Linked DNA regions of Homo sapiens: all the other regions are linked to region 1. Evidence: promoter capture Hi-C in 16 types of primary human blood cells and fetal thymus (Javierre and others, 2016). All regions are on one chromosome and are shown on one strand. The core of a region is centred on a gene start or on the middle of the fragment in contact, and the rest is flanking DNA. Distances in the headings are between cores, read along the strand shown.

What was found. Contacts are between HindIII fragments. The CHiCAGO score rates a contact against its expected background, and 5 or more counts as called.
Region 2: a contact is called between a fragment that was not itself captured here and the fragment with the promoter of HAT1 in region 1, in 2 of 17 cell types (neutrophils and total B cells). The highest score is 8.1, in neutrophils.
Region 3: a fragment that was not itself captured here is called in contact with the fragment with the promoter of HAT1 in region 1 in 1 of 17 cell types (total CD4 T cells); the score reaches 5.7 in total CD4 T cells.
Region 4: a fragment that was not itself captured here is called in contact with the fragment with the promoter of HAT1 in region 1 in 6 of 17 cell types (total CD4 T cells, naive CD4 T cells, neutrophils and 3 more); the score reaches 10.4 in total CD4 T cells.
Region 5: a fragment that was not itself captured here is called in contact with the fragment with the promoter of HAT1 in region 1 in 4 of 17 cell types (naive CD8 T cells, total CD8 T cells, non-activated CD4 T cells and 1 more); the score reaches 7.1 in naive CD8 T cells.
Region 6: a fragment that was not itself captured here is called in contact with the fragment with the promoter of HAT1 in region 1 in 4 of 17 cell types (neutrophils, naive CD8 T cells, naive CD4 T cells and 1 more); the score reaches 9.1 in neutrophils.
Region 7: a fragment that was not itself captured here is called in contact with the fragment with the promoter of HAT1 in region 1 in 6 of 17 cell types (naive CD4 T cells, non-activated CD4 T cells, activated CD4 T cells and 3 more); the score reaches 10.6 in naive CD4 T cells.

What each region holds. Positions count from the first base shown.
Region 1 is chr2:171,920,867-171,923,886 of GRCh38, forward strand. HAT1 (histone acetyltransferase 1) reads left to right here and starts at 1,595. Exons shown (of 11, transcript NM_003642.4): 1 at 1,595-1,641. The coding sequence starts at 1,635. It overlaps LOC105373740 (a long non-coding RNA gene), which reads right to left and starts at 1,523. Exons shown (of 3, transcript XR_923579.2): 1 at 1,173-1,523; 2 at 214-365. RefSeq lists enhancers at 1,031-1,679, 1,820-1,869. The HindIII fragment of the contact is 14,743 bases long and covers 1,134-3,020 here.
Region 2 is chr2:170,932,627-170,935,646 of GRCh38, forward strand. All of the region lies in intron 1 of GORASP2 (golgi reassembly stacking protein 2), which reads left to right. Among named protein-coding and RNA genes, the nearest start is that of GORASP2, 4.9 kb to the left of the region's middle. The HindIII fragment of the contact is 5,206 bases long and covers 1-3,020 here.
Region 3 is chr2:172,594,065-172,597,084 of GRCh38, forward strand. It overlaps PDK1 (pyruvate dehydrogenase kinase 1), which reads left to right. Exons shown (of 11, transcript NM_002610.5): 11 at 1,765-3,020. The coding sequence ends at 1,905. Among named protein-coding and RNA genes, the nearest start is that of PDK1-AS1, 39 kb to the left of the region's middle. The HindIII fragment of the contact is 2,178 bases long and covers 515-2,692 here.
Region 4 is chr2:172,576,576-172,579,595 of GRCh38, forward strand. The region is part of intron 8 of PDK1 (pyruvate dehydrogenase kinase 1); the gene reads left to right. Among named protein-coding and RNA genes, the nearest start is that of PDK1-AS1, 22 kb to the left of the region's middle. The HindIII fragment of the contact is 2,148 bases long and covers 413-2,560 here.
Region 5 is chr2:172,548,498-172,551,517 of GRCh38, forward strand. All of the region lies in intron 1 of PDK1-AS1 (PDK1 and ITGA6 antisense RNA 1), which reads right to left. Among named protein-coding and RNA genes, the nearest start is that of PDK1, 6.1 kb to the right of the region's middle. RefSeq lists enhancers at 334-1,076, 1,077-1,818. The HindIII fragment of the contact is 2,623 bases long and covers 206-2,828 here.
Region 6 is chr2:172,508,711-172,511,730 of GRCh38, forward strand. All of the region lies in intron 1 of PDK1-AS1 (PDK1 and ITGA6 antisense RNA 1), which reads right to left. Among named protein-coding and RNA genes, the nearest start is that of ITGA6-AS1, 44 kb to the left of the region's middle. The HindIII fragment of the contact is 2,843 bases long and covers 192-3,020 here.
Region 7 is chr2:172,490,472-172,493,491 of GRCh38, forward strand. It overlaps ITGA6 (integrin subunit alpha 6), which reads left to right. Exons shown (of 26, transcript NM_000210.4): 21 at 553-651; 22 at 750-860; 23 at 954-1,052. The region is part of intron 2 of PDK1-AS1 (PDK1 and ITGA6 antisense RNA 1); the gene reads right to left. Among named protein-coding and RNA genes, the nearest start is that of ITGA6-AS1, 26 kb to the left of the region's middle. The HindIII fragment of the contact is 4,096 bases long and covers 1-3,020 here.

The sequences.
Region 1 (3,020 bases), core at 345-2,844:
ACAAAAATACAAAATTGCTGGGTGTGGTGGCGCATGCCTGTAATCCCAGCGACTCAGGAGGCTGAGGCAGAAGAATCGCTTGAACCCGGGAGGCGGAGGCTGTGGTGAGCTGAGATTGTGCCATTGCACTCCAGCCTGGGCAACAAGAGTGAAACTCCGTCTAAAAAAAAAAAAAAAAAAAAGAAAGAAAAAGGATCTGGGCATTCTCAGTACCTTTTCTGATCTTTATCTTCAGGAAAGCCATCTCTATATAGTTGAGCAAATAAATACTGGGCTGAGTATCTGATGAACTGCACTCTGCATAGGTTGCATACTGAGAATGAACTTGGGCAGTTTATCTTTTCTGGGCTTTGGTTTCCTCATCTCTAAAATGAGAGGGCGTGTTAGTTCTAGACCATCATCCCAAGGGTCCATTTTAGCTTTAGCGTGCATCACTGTAAAACCTGTTAACAAATATTTGTTGAGATAAGGAATTCTGGTGTATAGCCAACATTGTGGGAATATTTGTGGATACCTAAATAGTGGTTTATCCTCTGGGGAAAGCAGTTCCTACAGCTACTAAATACTAACAAGGCCTATGGCTAAAATCAGGTAGCACCTTGTGATGTAATTCAAACCACTAGGACATGTGGCATGCAAGACTACATCAGGCTACTTGAGGTATTTATTAGGTAACAATTTTTTTTTTTTTTTGAGACGGAGTCTCACTCTGTTGCCCAGGCTGGAGTGTAGTGGCGCAATCTCGGCTCACTGCAACTTTCGCCTCCAGGGTTCAAGCGATTCTCCTGCCTCAGCCTCCCGAGTAGCTGGGATTACAGGCGCCTGCCACCATGCCTGGCTAATTTTTGTATTTTTAGTAGAGACGGGGTTTCACTATGTTGGCTACACTGGTCTCGAACTCCTGAGCTCAGGCAATCTACCCGCCTCGGCCTCCCAAAGTGCTGGGATTATAGGCGTGAGCCACCGCGCCCGGCCTAGGTAACGATTTTTGCGCGCTAAACGGTTCTTAGTAACCTGCAGAGTGAAAGCAGAGTACCTAAATATCATACTGTATACGTTAAAAACAGGGGAGAAAGGAAAAAAGGTGTTAAAGTTTACAGCAAAATGAGAAACAAATGAGGAAAACAAGTGAAAGCTTCTCCCGCAACTGAAACTCAACCTCTACATTTTACCTAGGTAAAATGGTAAAATTGCCCACAGGGCTCAGGTGTTTGGATGCACTGTCCAGGCCAAGAGGAAAGATTTTCAGCCAGTCTCCAAAACATCTCAGGGACGGGTATGGAAAACAGGCGTAAAGTGTCTGTATTGATCAAATCAACCCCAGAGAAACTTTCCTAGGGCCAGAGAGCATCTCAACCGCGAAAGTCCGTTTGCGGCCTCCTTCTCCACTTCAGGCCTGCAAAGCGGCTGACGGCATTCGCAGTGGCTAGGCAACGGCCCGCGCAGACTTCTCGGCGTTAGCCCCGCCTCTTGAGGCGCTTCCGCCGCCGGGCTCCTGGACACGCCTCCTTTAATTGGCTAACGTCACGCTGGGAGTGGGCGGGGAAAATATGTCAGACTGTGCGGTCACTTCCGGCCCGGGAGCGCGCGGGTTGATTCGTCCTTCCTCAGCCGCGGGTGATCGTAGCTCGGAAATGGCGGGTAAGTTACCGGGAAAAGTTTACCAAGGGGAGGAGGCGGCCAGATCGGGGATAGAACGCCGAGACGGTGGTGACAATGCCCGCCTAGAACTTTCGGGCTGTAGCCTGGGTTCCAGAAGGCCTGCTTGGGACCGGAAGCGCGGAACTCTCAGCCCAGCAGCTCCTTGTTGGCGGCGGTCCGCGCCCCCGCCCCCAACTGCTTGGGGTTCTGCGCCTTCTGCCAGCAATCCGGCCCCTACCGAGGGCCGAAGACGCCAGGGAAAAGCGTCATGATTTGGGCTCGTAAAATGCCACATGCCTTGGGGCCTGTTTCTCTTCCCATTCCTTTTGTCCACTGCTGCTTGCTTCAGCTCTTGTACATCTGGTCCTGTTCCCGCCAGCTGATTTTAATGCTCAGATCCTCCTCCTCTTCCAGGTCTCCGTCTACCTTCCACTACAGTCAACTTCTGAGCTAGCGCATTGCTGCCTTGCCCTGCTCTGGCGCTCCCACTTGGATCTCGACTGACTTCGTAGTCGTCTCGTTAATCTGTCACACTTTAGTATTCCGAGGATCGTATTTAGATGCCCTTTGAGAAAGACTTTGTTCCTGAACTGCTCCCTTCTCTTTTAGGGTTGGACTACTATAATACAATTCTCTTGTGTACATTCTAGAGACCCTTCAAGTTACAACATTTAATAATGTATAATTGCTATTACTTTGTACGTGTATTAAGGCTGTTTTGGTGTGATTATTTTTTTCGATTACTTATCTTTTGAAGTTATGGACAGTTTCTTTTTCCTGAGACAGGGTCTCTCTGTCGCCCAGGCTGGAGTGCAGCGATCATAGTTCCGGGCAGCTTCCAACTCCTCGTAGGCTCAAGCGATCCTCTTGCCTCAGCCTCCCGAGTAGCTAGGACTACAGGCATGCGCCACAACATTCGGCTAAAAAAAAACAATTTTTTTTAACCTTTTAGAGACAGAGTCTGGCTGTATTGCCTCAGGCCGGTCTGGAACTCTTGGCCTCAAGCCATCCTCTCGCCTCAGCTTCCCAAAGTGTTGGAATGACAGGATTGAGCCACTTCGCTGGCCTTTGTTGCTTTTATCATCTCTTTACAGGGCATTCCTCATAGTCTCTCTACATTAACCATTCCATTTTTATGAATATGTGGGATAGACAAGCTGTTGTGTGAGCTCTACAGATGTTTAAAGAAGGACTTTTCTACCAGATGGAGATTGTAGGATCTTGAAGTACCACAGAAGAGGGAGGACGTACTCTAAGAATTACATCTAAATTCGAATTTTGGGCCCATCATTTAGTAGTTGGATGCCCTTCAACTAAACCTCTTTCTAAGCCTGAACTTTTGAATGTAAAATGGGGTTGATGTAATACCTACTTATAGA
Region 2 (3,020 bases), core at 187-2,686, 990 kb before region 1:
TGTGTCCATTAGAGAACATTTGGATGTGGTAAAAAAGTACAGCAAAGAACCTGAATTACCTGTAATCCCACCATCTAAAGGCAAATACTGTTGAAGTATTTCTCTTAGTCTCCTTTTTTTCCTGGGCCTAACATCGCCCCTTAGCCATGTTTCACAAAGATTTTGAATAATATGACGTATTCAAGGACTATATGGCCAAAAGTTATCTTAAGAGGTTAACATTACAACCAAAATAGCCAACAGCTGAGAAATTGTTAAACAAATCAGGGCCTAAACACAGATAGAATGCTACACATTCACTCAAAATTGTGTTTCAGACACCCTGTGTGTGTGCAGGTACATTTGAGTGCTTAGGAAAATAAAGCTGAAAGGTAATAAACAAGGTTGTCTAAAAAATTATTAGTGGATGGTGACTTTTTTTTTAACTTTAATATATTTTCTAGGATTTCTGAAGTGATCATTAAATACTTGTATAGTCACCCAAAGTGTAGATATGCAAAATTACTTTTAAAAAAGAAGTGGACTCCTAGTGGAGGATTTAAAAATTTGTGTAGAAGTCTTTTTTTAAAAAATAGCATTTCAGATTTCCTTATATAGTGGGTCAGATTTGTGCTCACTATGAATGGCACTTTTATTTTGGTCCTCCAATCCTAATGTAAGGCAGGAAAAATGTTAGGGCTTCTCAGTTTTTGAAGTTATTGTAAGTTACCCCCTACATGTGAACTATGTTTAATATCAAATTTTTGCCTATATTTTCCATTAATTATCCAGTGAACCCAACAAGACCATTTTCAAAATTAAATTAAACCAAAATATCCAACAGGTGAGAAATTGTTAAACAAATCAGGGCCTAACCACAGATAGAATGCTATACATTCGCTCAAAATTGTGTTTCAAACACCCTGTGTATGTGCAGGTACATTTGAGTGCTCAGGAAAATAAAGCTGAAAGGTAATAAACAAGGTTCTCTAAAAAATTATTAGTGACATAGTTCACAAAATTAAATTTTTGGAGTGACCTCACAGATGCCTATTATAGGATCTGCTTTTAAATTAAAATATTCATATTCTGTTCCACACTTAAAAGAGATGGGGAATAGCTGAGGGCATACTTTCTGGAGCAAGTATTCAGTGTGGAGACTGTGTGGAGTGTGGAGACATGGAAAATGGCATTTTCATTCTTTCTCATGCTTGCTTCTGGGAGAGATTTTGAGGTGATGGATATTTTGAAGGAAGGGTCATTGACATGAAATGTGTCACGAGTGTAATAACAGGTTTTTATCTTCTGAGCTATTTGCTGCAGACTGGGTAACATTTAGGTGTTCTCAGAGAAGCAAGTGACTGCAAGTGGAATTACTTCTATAGAAAATGCAATGCCTACACCATATCTTCTATCATATGGAACTGCTCTTTTTATATATTTTTTTCTATTTTGTCAGAGATGAGGTCTCCCAAAGGTACTGCTCTTTTTAAATGGTGCCTAACTAACCTATCTGCAATCCTGTTGTGATGGGATTTCAATTTAGTACTTATTTTGAAAAAATTAATTTCTGATATTCAATAGTCATTGTCTTCTTTATTCTTCTAACAGTCTTTCTCAAACTTTTGAAACTCATACCCTGTTTTTTTTTTTGTTGTTGTTGTTGTTGTTTTGTTTTGTTTTTTTTGAGATGGAGTTTCGCTTTTGTTGCCCAGGCTGGAGTACAATGGCGCATCTCGGCTCACTGCAACCTCCCGGGTTCTCCTGCCTCAGCCTCCCAAGTAGCTGGGATTACAGGCACCTGTCATCACGCCCAGCTAATTTTTGTATTTTTAGTAGAGGTGGGGTTTCACCATGTTGGCCAGGCTGTTCTCGAACTCCTGACCTCAAGTGATCCACCCGCCTCCACCTCCGACAAGTGCTGGGATTACAGGTGTTAGCCACCACGCCCTACCTCATCCCCTAACACAGAAATCTCACTCTGGCTCCCTTCTCACTCATTCTGGAAACAATGGGTAAAAAGAAAACAGTAGGGTTATTTGGTATTGTTTTCTATATATAAAGTTATAATTGTGAAACCTGAAGAGTCTGACCCTGCCCCCAGAATTGATCTCTCCTTTTTTTTCTTTTTTGTTTGTTTGTTTGTTTGTGAGATGGAGTCTCGCTCTGTTGCCACGGCTGGAGTGCAGTTGTGCAATCTCAGCTCACTGCAACCTCCGCCTCCGAAGTCCAAGCAATTCTCCTGCCTCAGCCTCCAGAGTGGCTGGGATTACAGGTTCCTGCCACCGTGCCCAGCTAATTTTTGTATTTTTAGTAGAGATGGGCTTTCACCCTATTGGTCAAGCTGGTCTCGAACTGCTGACCTCAGCTGATCCACAGGCCTCGGCCTCCCAAAGTGCTGGTATTACAGGCGTGAGCCACTGTGCCAGGCCCAAAATTGATCTTTTCTAATAAAAGGCCCAGAAGTTGTTTAATAAACATTCTTTTAAATTGCTTTCAAATGTAGGAATCAGGATGTCTCAGTTTATTGAAGCCATGGAATACAATGTATATAAATCTTGGGATACTTTTAGGAATTATATCATTGAACATAAACTTTTTCTAATATTAATAGGCCTTGAACAAATTAGTAGTTTCATGTTGATTATATACACTTTTTTTTTCTTTGAGATGGAGTCTTGCTCTATCACCCAGGCTGGAGTGCAGTGGCGCGATCTCAGCTCACTGCAACTTCCGCCACTCCAGTTCAAGTGATTCTCCTGCCTCAGCCTCCCAAGTGGCTGGGATTATAGGCACCCACCACCACACCCAACTAATTTTTGTATTTTTAGTAGAGACAGGGTTTCACCTTATTGGCCAGGTTGGTCTAGAACTTCAGACCTCAAGTCATCTGCCCACCTCAGCCTCCCAAAGTGTAGGGATTTCAGGTGGGAGCCACTGCACCCAGCACCCCCAACGCCCCACCTCTTTTTTTTTTTTTTTTTTCTTTTTTTGACACAGGGTCTCACTCTAGGCTGGAATGAGTAGCACAGTCTCCACTC
Region 3 (3,020 bases), core at 354-2,853, 670 kb after region 1:
TTGCTCTGTGTCACGTAAGCTGGAGTGCAATGGCATGATCTCGGCTCACTGCAACCTCCGCCTCCCGGGTTCAAGCTGTTCTCCTGCCTCAGCCTTCCGAATAGCTGGGATTACAGGCGCCTGACTAATTTTGTATTTTTAGTAGAGATGGGGTTTGACCACGCTGGCTAGGCTGATCTCGAACTCCTGACCTCAGGTGATCCGCTTGCCTTGGCCTCCCAAAGTGCTGGGATTACAGGCATGAGCCACCACACCTGGCCTAGTGCAATGTTTTTATGACAAAATGTAACATTTTGATCTAGCCCAGGAGTGTCCAATCTTATGGCTTCCCTGGGCCACAGTGGAAGAACAGCTGTCTTGTGCCACACATAAAATACACTAATGATAGCTGATGAGCTTAAAAAAGATTGCACAAAAAAAAATCTCATAATGTTTTAAGAAAGTTTACAAATGTGTTGAGCTTCATTCAAAGCCATCCTGGGCCGCATGCAGCCTGTGGGCTGTGGATTGGACAAGCTTGATCTAGCCTGTAGATCAAGAAATTCTGGAATATTTAGAGAAATATGGAGGTGAAAGGTTTTTTGTTCTACCTTAGGGAAAATAGAAGATAAGAAGTCTTAGAGAATCATTAAAATTGTCAACATCAAAGACTTTAGCATTATCAGAATGAGATTTTCTTGTTCAGGGTGTTCTGCATCTTAGGAAATGCCTTTGGCCTGGGATGGAAATACTACTGAAAAATCCTAACTTGAAGAAGATAACTAGAAATGTAGTTTATCTCAGGTTCCAGTGACTTATAGGAAGCTGAAATACAATGGAGAATTACTGGTAATAATATATGGAAAACTGAAATCATGCATGATGCAGAAATCTTGTGCACAGTGACTGAAATTGGAGGCCGGAGAAGACACAGATTCAAACCCAGGGCCAATAAATGTTCACGAAAAAGCTAAGATGCCTTAGACATAGATTTCTATTTATTAATAATGTTATAATGAGTTTTTAAATTTTTATGTATTTATAGAGTCAATATCTTGCTTTGTTGCCAGGCCGGAGTGCAGTGGTACAATCATAATTCACTACAGCCTTGAACCCCTGGGCTTCAAGTGATCCTCCTCTCTCAGTCTCCCAAGTAGTTAGGACTACACCCATGTGCCACCATGTCCAGCTGATATTTTTATTTTTTGTAGAGACAGGATCTTGCTATGTTGCCCAGGCTGGTCTCCAACTCCTGAGCTCAAGCAATCTTCCTGTGTAAGCCTCCCAAAGCACTGGGATTATAGGCATAAGCCACCGTGCCTGGCTTGTGATGAGTTTTTTTTAAAGCACAGTGACTATGCTGAAAAAAACACTATTTCTTCTAGTAAATAATTAAAATAGAGTTCATTAAATTTATGTGCATCTATTAAGATACATATATCGATTTGTATGCTTTTACATTTAACCAACTTCTTCAGTTAGCCAACTCTGATCTGGGTCATGTTTTGTGTAAAATTTCAGTCCAGCAGCTTCCAGGATGGCTGGGGAATTACTGTAAGCAACAAACTCAGTCAACCTGCACATCAGTCAGTGCCATAGATTTCATAAATAACACGTTTCAAATATACATACCATTTAAAAGTATATTTAGGTGGTATAAGGATTAATAAGATACTAATAGAATATTATTTAATTTGTCGTAACCTTTTTGCCATTGTCTATTTTCTCAAATAATGAATTCTAAAAAATGCCAGACTTAATAGGTCTTAGGTTTTTCTTTTTCAGGCTCTGTCAACAGACTCAATAGAAAGACTCCCAGTGTATAACAAAGCTGCCTGGAAGCATTACAACACCAACCACGAGGCTGATGACTGGTGCGTCCCCAGCAGAGAACCCAAAGACATGACGACGTTCCGCAGTGCCTAGACACACTTGGGACATCGGAAAATCCAAATGTGGCTTTTGTATTAAATTTGGAAGGTATGGTGTTCAGAACTATATTATACCAAGTACTTTATTTATCGTTTTCACAAAACTATTTGAGTAGAATAAATGGAAACTGAATTCCATTTGTGCCCGTTAAACCTCCTAAAGGATGAAATTGCACCTATTTTACACTTATATTTTCACAGTTAATTGAACATATTTTTAAACAACTGTAGTTTTGGGCAACTTTTCACTTTGTGGTAGACTTCAGAAGTGTGGAAATCTTCGGGTTTCTATAGGAAACTAGTTTTTTTTTTTTAAGAAATACTTTCATTTATGTTTGCTAGAAACATTTTCTAAATGATAGTGATTAGCTGGTTAGCCATCTTCCTGTTATTTGGAGGAGTTCTGCCATCTTTTATTCGGTAGTGACAGCTGTAATATGGTCTTCATGTTTATCAGTGACTTGACTACAAGTAAAGCAGAAAACAGTTGGCCTGTAATCACAGAACCAGCCACCCTTCGGCGTCTACATGCATTGTCTTAGCTCTGAGGTTAATTTACCATTTTTAAATTTTATTGTAAAGAAGTGTAATGACTAGCTCTCTGTGGATCTATGCCAAAATCATGGGCCATCTTTTCTAAGTGTACTTCTGATTAATGCAAGGGGAAATTTTTATACTGAAAACAAACAAACAAACTAGCAGCTACTAAAATAGAGAAGAAATTGAGGGCAAAGTAATATGTCTCCAAAACTGAACTGATTGCTTGTTGAGATTACCTAGAAAGCTTTTGGAAAAAAATAGAGCTTTTCTGCATCCTACTCCAGATACACTGAATCGGAATCCCTAGGGCTAGAGCCTAGAAATCTCACTTTTTAAAATGCTTCCAAGGTAAGTCTGATGCCTACCCTAGGTTGGGAACCACTCTTTCAAAGTAAACAGTGATGACACAGCATTTGCTAAAGTAACATCTGTAGGTTTTGGTTTCCACCTATTTAAAGTCAGATTTATAGACTCGAGGAGACAGAAACTGAATCCCACACCTGGTGCAATTAGAAGCATAATTAGAAGCAGAAGAACAAAATGCCACGTAACCAAAGCATCAGAGCCATC
Region 4 (3,020 bases), core at 237-2,736, 660 kb after region 1:
GGTGGAAGTTTTGGTTATTCATTTGAGACATTTTACAACTATAATTTTACTTTAAGCACTGCTTTGTCTATCTTACAAGTTTTTAATGTTTTGTTTTCATTTTCATTCATCTCAAAGTATTTTCTAGTTTCCTTTTGGATTTTTCCCATTGGTTAATAGGATTGTGTTGTTTAATTGCCACATACTTGTGAATTTCCCATGTGTTCTCTTAATCATTTAAATTTCATTCTGTTGTGATTGGAAACATACTTTGTATGATTTCAAGTATACATCTATTGAGATTTGTTTTACAGCCTAACATAGGGTCTGTCTTGGAGAATGTTCCATGTGTACTTGAGAAAAGTGTGCATTCTGATGCTGTTGAATGTTCTACAGATAGCTATTAGGTTTAGTAGGTTTGCAGTGTTGTACAAGCTTGTCTTTCCTTGTTGATCTTGTAATTGTTATATCCATTGTTGAAAGTGGAGTATTGAAGTCATCTCCAATTATTGTTGAATTGTCTATTTCGCCCTTCAGTTCCATCAGTTTTGCTTCATGTATTTTGGAGCTCTGTTGAGTACATATATGTTTTTAATTATTATCTCTTTTTTGTGTATTAACCTTATATCATTAAAAAATGTACTATTTTGTCTCTTATAACAGTTTTTGTTTAAAAGTATATTTTGTTTGAAGTTAGTGTAACCATCCCAACTCTTTTTGTTTCTGTTTTCATAGTGTAACTTTCCAGACTTTTAGTTTAAACCTCTTTGTGCCTTTCAGTCTAAAATGTGTCTCTTTATAGCATACAGTTAGAATTTAAAACCATTCTGCCAATGTCCACCTTTTAATTGGAATGTTCAGATCAATTAAATTTAATATAATTACTATTAATGTAATTAACAGTAATTTTGGTTTATGTTTGCCGTTTTGTCTTCAATATATGTCATATCATTTTTTATTATTTCTCCATTATCACTGTCTTTTGTTAAAATATTTTGTATTATATCATTTTAATTTCGTTCTTGTTTTTGTTACTATATTTCTTTGAGTTTTTTAAGTAATTATCCTGGGGATTACAATTAACACCTTAATTTATAATCTAGTTCAGATTAATACCAATTTGCTTTCAATAGTATACACTGACTTTTCTCCTAAATAGGCCTTTTCCCCTCCCCACCCATCCTTTGTGCTGTTATTGTCATATAACATACATTTTTGTACATTGTGTGCCTGTCTACAGAGATTTATAATTATTGTTCTATTCAATTGTCTTTTAAATCAGATAGGACACAAAAAGAGTTACAAACAAAAAATATACTCATATTTTCCTTTAGATTTACTTTTGTAATAACTTTTACTGGCACTGTTTATTTCTAAACATGGATTCAATGTTTTGTCTAGTATCCTTTTGTTTCAGCCTGAAGGATTCCCTTTGGTATTTCTTGATAGCCCATGTCTGTCAGTGATCATCTCTCTCAGTTTTTGCTTATCTGGAAATGTCTTAATTTCTCCTTCATTTTTGAAGGATAGTTTTGCTGGTTATAGAATTCTTGTTGATAGTCTTTTTCTTTCAGCACTTTGGAATATGTTATCTCACTGCCTTCCAGCCTCCATGGTTTGGATGAGAAATCAGCTGTTACAATCTTATTGAATATTGCACATATGTGATGAGTCATTTCTCTGTTTCTCAGACTGGATAATTTCAATTGACCTGTCTTCACTCTCACTGATTCTTTTCTTTCACATGCTCAAATATGCTGTTGAACCCCTCTAGTGAAATTTTCATTTCGTTTATTTTTCATTTCATTTATTGTACTTCTCAATTCCAGAATTTCAACTTAGTTCTCTTATATAATATCTATCCTGTTTTTTTCACCTTTGCTAAATGTTGATGCATATCATTTTATTGCCCTATATTTTATTGTTGTATCGTTTAAAATTTTCTATTTTGAGACATCCTTATACTTTAGTTCTTTAGTGTTTGTTTACGGAGTGTGAGTTTACTGACTCAGGTATAGTTTATTGACTGATTTTTCCTTGCCTGTGTATGGGCAATACTTTTTTGTTTTTTTCATATCTTGTTATTTTTATAGAAAACTGGACATTTAAAATAATATATTTTGACAGCTCTGCAGATCAGATACTGCTGTCTCCCCAAGGCTGTCTTTGTTGTTGTTTTGTAATTTTTTTTTTTTTTGGAGTTAATTCTTTTAAGTTTGAATTCTTTGTTGTGTGTGGCTTCTGAAGTCTCTGCTCATTTAGCTTAGTGGTCAGCTAATGACTGGACTGAGATTTCCTCAAATACCTGGAATCAGTAAGTTTCCCAGTCTTTGCCAAGGGACTCTGTGTGTGTATAGAAGTGTTCAGGAGAATATCTTCAACACTCAGCCAGGCAGTTAACAACTGTGCCTTAACCTTTAGGTCCTGCTCGCATAGAGCAATTAGAGGTGAGAGCTTAGGGCCTTCTCAGTGTCTTTCCTGAGCATGACCCTGGGCATGAGTATGGCCTTCCAGATTCCCAGGAGATAGCTGAGGTTTTCAAAGCCCCTATGGCTATCTCATTCCCTAGACCTTCCTGTTAAGCTTTTTGGTTAGCCTTATTGTTTGCCCTAGCTGTTGTCCAGTTTCTTCTGCAGCCCTCAAATTAATCAGTTACTTCTAATTGTTTTTGACAGATGTTTCCAGGGATGGGGGTGGGGTGCAAGACTTTTGTACTGGGGAGCTCAGAGTCAGGTCAAATAAATACAGTCTTCCCAGCAGCTACCAGGCTGCTGGTTTCACTCTGATTGCATATTGATTGGAGGGAGGGGGAGCAGATGGGAGCAAGTTAAAATGCTTACTGTTCTTATACGGATTCAGTTGTTTTACTTGAATAAATGTTCCCCAGATTGCTGCATGCCTTTAGTTAATTTCCAGAATTCTGTCAAAGTAGATTCTAAATGATTTTTGCACCCCCCTCCCCCGCTCTTTCTTTTTTTTTTTTTTTTTGGTGCTTTGATAGAGGAGAGACTTTTGCAGGTTCTTTCTCTTCTATTTTTGCT
Region 5 (3,020 bases), core at 267-2,766, 630 kb after region 1:
TGTGAAATTCCTTCTCCTGGCTCATCCTGGCTCAAAAGCTCCCCCAATGAGTACCCTGTGAACCCCACTCCTGCCAATCAGAGAACAACCCCCCTTTGACTATAATTTTACTTTACCTACCCAAATCTTATAAAATGGCCCCATCCTTATATCCCTTTGCTGACTCTCCTTTCGGACTTAGCCCGCCTGCACCCAGGTGATTAAAAGCTTTATTGCTCACACAAAGCCTGTTTGGTGGTCTCTTCACACAGATGTGAGTGAAAACCATTGCACCTCTGAAAGGATTAACAAAATAAAATAAGTATTTGGTTATTCTGCCCCTCCTTAGTTGGTTTACCCAATGAGCTTCTCCCTTGTAAACCAAAAATAAAATTCGGCTGGGGCAGTGGCTCAGGCCTGTAATCCCACCACTTTGGGAGGCGAGGTGGGCAAATCATCTGAGGTCAGTAGTTCAAGACCAGCCTGACCAACAGGGTGAAACCCCATCTCTACTAAAATTACAAAAATTAGCCAGGTGTGGTGGCACATACTTGTAATCACAGCTACTCGGGAGGCTGAGGTTGGAGAATCACTTCAACCCAAGAGGCGGAGGTTGCAGTGAGCTGAGATCATGCCACTACACGTCAGCCTGGGCAACAGAGTGAGACTCTGTCTCAAAAAATATATATATTCTAAACCCTCCAACCAACTGAATGGACCCCTCCTTTTGGCCAAGAGCATTCCAAAGTTAACCTGAGAAACTAGTTCAGGCCATGATGGGAAGGCGGGGTCAGACATGTCTCATTATTCTGTCCTCCCTTCTGGAATTTAGGTACAGCTGACCAGCATTAACATTAACATAGAGATTTTACATCTGACAAAACAGACTGTTTGTAGCCTAAGATACCAACATGACAAGGAGCAGGTTCTGCAAGAAACTAAAGATTTTATCCCAAAATATATTTCTTGACATATTTTGAAATGGCCCTGCAAAGCTGTCTCTTGTGGGGAAAATCTACATTCTACAGAGAATCCTCTTCCCTTTCCAAGTACTTTCCCTGATTCAGAAGGGAATTAACTAACTCTGGCACCTTTTTAAAGTCTGATAAGAAACAGTTACAAGGTTGGGCACAGTGGCTCACGTCTGTAATCCCAGAACTTTGGGAGGCCGAGGACTCCCAAACTCTGTAAAATATTTGAAGAGATTTATTCCGAGCCAAATATGAGTGACCATGGCCCCGTGACACAGCTCTCAGGAGGTCCTCAGAACATGTGCCCAAGGTGATTGGGGCACAGTTTGGTTTTATACATTTTAGGGAGGCATGAGACATCAATCAAATACATTTAAGAAATACATTGGTTTAGTCCTGAAAGGTAGGACAATTCAAAGTTGGGGCTTCCAGGCTATAGGTAAATTTAAACATTTTCTGATTTACAATTGGTTGAGTTTATCTAAAGACCTGAGATCACAGAAAGGAAATGTTCAGGTTAAGATAAAGGATTGTGGAGACCAAGGTTCTTTTGAAGTTTTATTGTGGCTGCCCTCAGAGACAACAGATGACAAACGTTTCCTATTCAGATCTTTAAAAGGTGCTAGACTTTAAGTTAATCTTTTTAGGATTGGGAGGGCCTGGAAGTAAAAGATCTAGCTATGTTAATAGAGATTCTTTACTGATGCAAATTTTCCCCCACAAAAGACAGATTTGCAGGGCCATTTCAAGATATGGCAAAAAAACATGTTTTGGGATAAAATATTTTGCTTTTCTTCCTTGTCATGTAATGTTATTCCAGAGTCAGGGTGAAAAGTAAGTCTCGATATATAGGGTTAAATAAAACCCATCTGATGAGAATTTATGGTTTGTAGGGCATGACTCCCCAGAACTCTTAGATAGGAATTTGGGCAAGATAAAAAAATCAGAATTTACTCCTCAGTAGCAACACATGACAGATAGCAGGTCCTGAAATAAACTGAAGTGTTTTACTACAAAACATATTTTTTTGACATATTTTGAACTAGCCCTGCAAAGCTATTTCTTCTGGGGAAAATCTATATTCTGTAGAGGATCCCCTTCCCTTTCCAGGTTTTTCCTTTTAAGGTCTGACACCTTTTTAGGTCTGATAAGAGACATTTACTATCTGTTCTCTCTGAAGCCTGCTATGTGGGACCTTTATCTGTGTAATAAGAATCTTGGTCTCCACAACCCCTTGTCTTAATCCAGACACTCCTTTCAATTGATCCTAGGTCTTGAGATAGTAACTTAACTCTTTCAACCAATTGCCAGTCAGAAAATCTTTGACTCTCCCTATAACCTGGAAGCCCCCTCCTGCCACAAGTTTCCCAATCCCCCTATATTACGTCTTAAAGTTGTCCTGCCTTTTCAGACCAAAGCAGTGTACGCTTTACATGTACTGAGTGATGTCTGCCTGCAACTTCTGTTCCCCTAAAACTGTACACAATCAAGCTATGACCCGACCACCTTGGGCACATGTTTTCAGGACCTCTTGGGACTGTGCCTCAGGCCTTGGTCACTCACATTTGGCTCGGAATAAATCTCTTAAAATATTTTACAGAGTTTGAGTCTTTTTTTTAAATCAACAGTTCAAATAAATTTTTAAAACTTTTAATGTGCCCAAATTTATCTTTTAACATTACCAGTCTCAGTTTGTGAAAGTCTAGAGTTCTCCCTGTCCATGTCTGTAAATTCTTGAGGCTCATAGTCTCATTTATAGTACCCCCCACCCCACCACCACTCAGACTCTTTGTGTGCAAAGTCTATCTCCATTGCCACAAACTCTCATAAAAAAAATTCATCCTTTCCTCCAATTTTCACAAAAGCACAACACATAAAAGCTTCAGTATCCAATAATCTCTCTTTTTTTGCAAACTTTACTGAAGGTTTGGGTTATAAGGAGTGCTCACATTGTGAACAGTCTTTGCAATCTTCTGCCTCCTCCCCTTCCCCTTTGCTCTACAAAGTGAATTCCTCTCCTTGCTTCCTGTAAAGCTGTTCTGAGCCTTCCCTACAGATCTCTCCTTCCAC
Region 6 (3,020 bases), core at 363-2,862, 590 kb after region 1:
AAAGCCTAGCAATTTAAGTTTTCAGTTCACCAACAATCAGTAAGTGGATTTAAGTGAGTGTTCTGTTAAGATCCTGTCATTGTGAGAGGGATGTGATTTAATAATTATTTTCCAGTTGGAAGTAAACAGATGTTTAGGGATGTTAGGCTCTGGGGATATACGTAAGACACTGGCTCTGACCTTTTATAGGAAGCTTATCTGAAACTACAGATGGTATTGACAAGCATAAGTGAATTCACTTTTTATAGGTAGCAGAATTTAAAACCCTAAGATATCAATGATTGACACATAAATTCAATACCTGGCCAGGCGTGGAGGTTCACGCCTGTAATCCCAGGACTTTGGGAGGCCGAGGCAGGCAGATCACATAAGGTCAGGAGTTCGAGACTAGCCTGACTGACATGGTGAAACCCCGTTTCTACTAAATACAAAAAATGAGCCGGGTGTGGTGGTGGCACATGGCTATAATCCCAGCTACTTGGGACGCTGAGGCAGGAGAATCGCTTGAACTGGGAGGCAGAGGTTGCAGTGAGCCAAGACTGCGCCACTGCAGTCCAGCCTGGGCAACAAAAGCAAAACTCTGTCTCAAAAAAAAAAATAAAGTCAATACCTGAACCTTTGTGGGCAGAACTTGCCCCCAGAACAACCCCATTCCCAGAAAATTTAGAGTCATTCTTAAGCAGGTCTACACATTTAAATCACCAAAGAAATACATTTATTAAAATCCCGATGGCTGGACAATCTGCCACACTGACTACATGAGAATCTGAGTGAGACCCAGAAATTAGCGCTGCTTAAAGCTCCCCAGCTGACTCGTAAAGTGCAGCCAGGATTGAGAACTACTTTAGAGATTATTGGATGTTGTGAATATTTATCAAAATAATATGCTCACTGTGTGGAATGCCTCGTTCCTGTTTGTGGTACTTCCACTGCACCAGTAACAGGAGCTGAGAAGCTAGAGGTGCATTTGCTATAGGCAGGGAGGCAGCTGAGCGGTGCATAAGGGCATGTCTCTGGAGCCACGCTGCAGGTGTGAATTAGCTTCTCCTCTTAGAACATAACCTTGGGTGAGTTACGGATATCTCTGTGCCCAGTTTCTTGGCCTGTAAGATAAGTGCTCACTCAGAGGTTCTTTTTTTTTTTTTTTTTTTTTTTTTTTGAGATGGAGTCTGGCTCCATCGAGACGGAGTTTTACTCTTGCTGCCCAGGCTGGAGTGCAATGGCACGATCTTGGCTCAGTGCAACCTCTGCCTTCTGGGTTCAAGCAATTCTCCTGTATCAGCCTCCCAAGCAGCTGGGATTATAGGCGCCCGCCACCATGCATGGCTAATTTTTTGTATTTTTAGTAGAGACGGGGTTTCGCCATGTTGGCCAGGCTGGTGTTGAATTCCTGACCTCAGATGATCCACCCCTGCTTCGGCATGCCAAAGTGCTGGGATTACAGGTGTGAGCCACCATACCCAGCCCAGAGGTTCTTGTAAAGAGAAAATTGGACCATCTGGAAGTGCTTACTAGTTACTTTTATACTTACCCTTGTTTATTATATAGAACCATAAATCTTAAAAAGGGAAGGAAGCATGGAAATCTAGTTCTACTTCCTCGTTTCACAGATGGGGAGACACGGTTTATTTTTATTGTCACGGGAACCTTTTGTCTCCTCATTCTTCAGTGTCTACCAACTTAAGTCTTACTAGTGGGTGTTATAACTACAAAAAAAAAATACGATGAACCTCTTAAAGTCCTTATCAACATAGATCATTCTGAACAACGACAAGAGTGACCTTATTTCTATGTTAAATTCTGTCTCAACCCTTAATACAGTGACCATAATGCAGTCTTCGGTTGGGGTCAGAAAGATGACATGTTAAGATAATCAACAAAGCATCTTGAAATCGCTAGGTATTGAATCTTTGTGTTTTTCTCCCCGCTGACATGGAAGAGTGTGAAAAGAGCAGATTCTCTTTTTGAACCTTTTCTCAGAGTTCTTTACACACCATCGATTTCTTTGGTTTCCTTTAGTGGGAAGGCAAGCCACAGTTTTACTGCTTATTACCTTTACTGCTGTGCAGAAGAGGAAATGCTCACAGAGCTCATCTTGCACCTGAGTTACACCATGTGTGTTAGAACGGAGTTTGTCACTGGAAGAACAAATTTGAAAACTCCTGCCTCCCACATGTCACAATAATGCATGGACTGAAAGACTATGTAAAGGCAAAAAACATACATATACATGCATTCTTCCATAGGAAGATTGGGGGACTGCCTGATGCCAAGGTGTCCTCAAATTGCTGATGGAACTGAAGTTCTGGGGTTCTTACCTGAGGAAGCCACTGGTGGTCAGGAAGTCTCAATTAGAGAAGTTAAGAGCAGTCTTTCTCAAAATTTAACATGCCTAAGACTCACCTGAGGATCTTGTTGATTCAGGTTCTGATTTAAACAGTCTAGGAAACAGCCTGAGAGTCTACATTTCTAACAACCTCCAGGTGTTGCAATACTACTGATCTATGGATTACTCTTTGGGTGTCAAGGGTCTCTAGAGCCAGTCTTTATTCAAGTCCCTATTGTGTCACTTTTTACTGTATGACCTGGGCAAGTTTAAATGCCTGATGCCTTAATTCCTTCACCTGTAAAATGGCATAAGGTATAATGGTATAAGGAATAAGATTATAACCTAGGCTTACACTGTCTTATGTCTTTCTACACAACTTCCAAACCCCTAACATCCTCAAATGTGTGGATAAGGACTGACTGGGGTGCAGTTAAGTCTGTTTATCTAAATATATAGCTTTCACCGTCTTGACAGGATAGCTGACATTTGTTGTAGGCTACTCTTACAGGCCATGCTTTTAAGATTCCTGCCCCGTGAGAAGGAAAATCCCATGACAGTGAATAGCATTACAACGGAATGGGAAACAATGTGCCAGTTCTAGTAGCTGACCCACAGAAGCAGTGACATGTTGATCTGGTTATAAAGACTTATCTAAATCAGTAATGAAACAAACACATTGAACAGGTTCAGG
Region 7 (3,020 bases), core at 391-2,890, 570 kb after region 1:
TCTTCTACTCATCAATGTTAAAAATCAAGATAATCGGTTATTACTAATCTTTGCTATAAGGAAAATGCAATTTTAAAAGTTCTTGTATGGCTTAGTTTTCATTGCTCTGCTCTGAATGAGCTATATAATGGGTCTTTTTGCTTCTTTCTCTGTTCTTCAGTGTCACTTATTCCTTCAAGATGTGCTGACTACCATGTTTTAGGAACAGAGCTGGAGGCTAGGGATACAGGAATAAGATTTGATCTCTGATCTCAGTATGCCCACAGTTTGGTGGGGATACAGAGGAACAAAGAAAGCATATTTCTCTTTCTCTGAGTTTTAAGGTCAGAGTGGGAATGAATTACTTAGTCCTATGAGTAAATCAATAAACTTGAATTTAGAGTGATAATACTTGCTGGTTTTACACTTACTTCTGTGCCTTTGGCAGGAGAGAGGCAAATATTGTTGATTATGTGAATCTGGCACTGTTTGGGAGGATATGCTCAAGAGGCTTGTATGGTAATGACAAAGAATTACATAAATTGGAACTATTTTGGATATAATTTTTTTCAGGAGTCTCACAACTCAAGAAAGAAACGGGAAATTACTGAAAAACAGATAGATGATAACAGAAAATTTTCTTTATTTGCTGAAAGAAAATACCAGACTCTTGTAAGTATTTTTCAAGAGCTGTGAATATTTGAGAGGATGAGGGGAAGGATTTCTTCAGAACAATGTCTTTTGATGACCATTCTTCTTTTTCTCTCTAGAACTGTAGCGTGAACGTGAACTGTGTGAACATCAGATGCCCGCTGCGGGGGCTGGACAGCAAGGCGTCTCTTATTTTGCGCTCGAGGTTATGGAACAGCACATTTCTAGAGGTATGACCTTGGCTTGAGGCTGTCCCATGGAAGTAATTTGCCTTTGCCTAGGACACTTTTCACTTCCCTAATGCATTCACTGTCTCCAAACAGGAATATTCCAAACTGAACTACTTGGACATTCTCATGCGAGCCTTCATTGATGTGACTGCTGCTGCCGAAAATATCAGGCTGCCAAATGCAGGCACTCAGGTGAGAGGTTCCCCAGCTTCATTCAGGTTCAGAACATGTCTCTTTTCCCTGTACCCCACACTCATGTCCTGAAGTCATGTGCTTTGGTGCTCATTTCCCTCATAGCCCCATTACGGAGAAAACTGTCTTAAGGTACTGGCACTGCAAGCTGTATTTTAATAGAATCATTGAAAAAAAGAAGTAAATCTAGGGTCATCCAGTTCAGCAGTGCCCATGGTAGGTTTGAGAACTACTGGCTCAATTCAGAGAATGGGTGCACCTCACAGCCCTCTAGAAACCTGTGTCTTCTACCATCTCTAATGCTGCAGCCATTGGTGTAATGCCCCAGTGATGGCCCATCCCTTGGCCAGCTGTAATTATTAAAAAAGATCTCTTCATAGCTGACTCCTGAACTGAACCTTGTAAGTCCCTGGTTATGCCCCTCAAACAAGTCTAAAATAAGTTCTCTCTCTTGGCCATGTAGCAGCCTCTCAAATAATTGAAGGAAATGGTCATGCCTCCTTGGATGTTTCTTATTCTTCTCAGAGCTTATGCACCCAGCTCTTGAGTTATGCGTCACATTGGGCACAGCTGAACTGGCTCCTGGCCTCTCCCTTCCTGGGCAATTTGATTCCCACGTGGACAGAGCAGCTGAGGTGGGGTCTGCTTGGTCCCACTTACCCTGGGGCCTTTACCTCTCAGCATCTCGGCACCACACTTCTGTCAGACCTGCCTAAAATTTGCTTTTTCAAACCATTGCTGAGCAGCATGTTTGAATTTCTAGCAGCTGCTATTTTTGTGTTAGTGTTCTACTGAAACTTCCAGGTGTTTTCATCAGAATTTGTTGTCAAGCTGTGTTTCCAGTATCCTGTCCTTGAGCTATTTGTAAAAATCTAAATGTATGCCTTTAAGTGTATCCTTACATTTTATGTGATTTGCTTTGGGTCCATTGTTTCAGTTTGCAAAGTAATTCTGAATCTTGCTTCATCATTTGCTTTCTCAACTTTCTATCCCTGAAAGTTTTAAAAACTGAGAAGCATGTTCTCTATGTCTTCATCCAGGTAATGACAAATATGTTGAATAGGACTAGGTGTAGAACCTTGTAGTGAACCAATAGTGAGGGGTTCCCTGTGGGAGTCTAGAACCCACAGGGACTTGTATAAAGATCTCGAGGCAGAATGACTGCATGTCATGGTGGGAATAATGAATGGGAATGTTTTGCAAAAGAGACTGGAGAAAGAAATACTGTGAATTACTGTTCTTAAGTTAATCTGCCAGTCTACTTATGGAAATGTTCTGGCTTCAGTCATTTAGCTAGCTGAAAATTCAGGGAGCCTCCCTAATCATTCTGTTTTCTGAAATATAGCAGTCCTTACGATTTATTATCCAAGCAAGAATACATTTTTGTTTTTATTTAGTTTTTTGAGATGGAGTCTTGCTCTGTTACCCAGGCTGGAGTGCAGTGGCGCAAACACAGCTCACTGCAGCCTTGAATGCCTGGGCTCAAGCAATCCTCCTGTCTCACCTCCTGAGTAGCTGGGACCACAGGCATGCCACCACGCCCAGCTAATTTTTCAGTTTTTTTTGTATAGCCAGAGTCTCACCATGTTGCCCAGGCTGGTCTTTAACTCCTGGACTCAAGCAATCCGCCTGCCTCAGCCTCCCAAAATGCTGGGATTATAGGTGTGAGCCACTGCACCCAGCCCCAGGATACATTTGCCTGAGACAAATGCTGTACTGGGCAAGCTGCTGCGATAAGTGGTATCAACCAGCACTGTCCCGGTCTCTCCAGGACATATCAACAGGCATCATAAGGGACTTTCAAATAAACCACACCTTCCCTAAGGATCCTTTCTCTGCATCTATAAAGGCAGCAGGTATAGCTTTCTATAACTGTAAATCAGCAACTCTGAAAATCACTGAGATTTCAGAGCTAGACAGAGAACACTTTAGAGGGAAGGGACTAACATTAATGAAGCCTTAATAAAA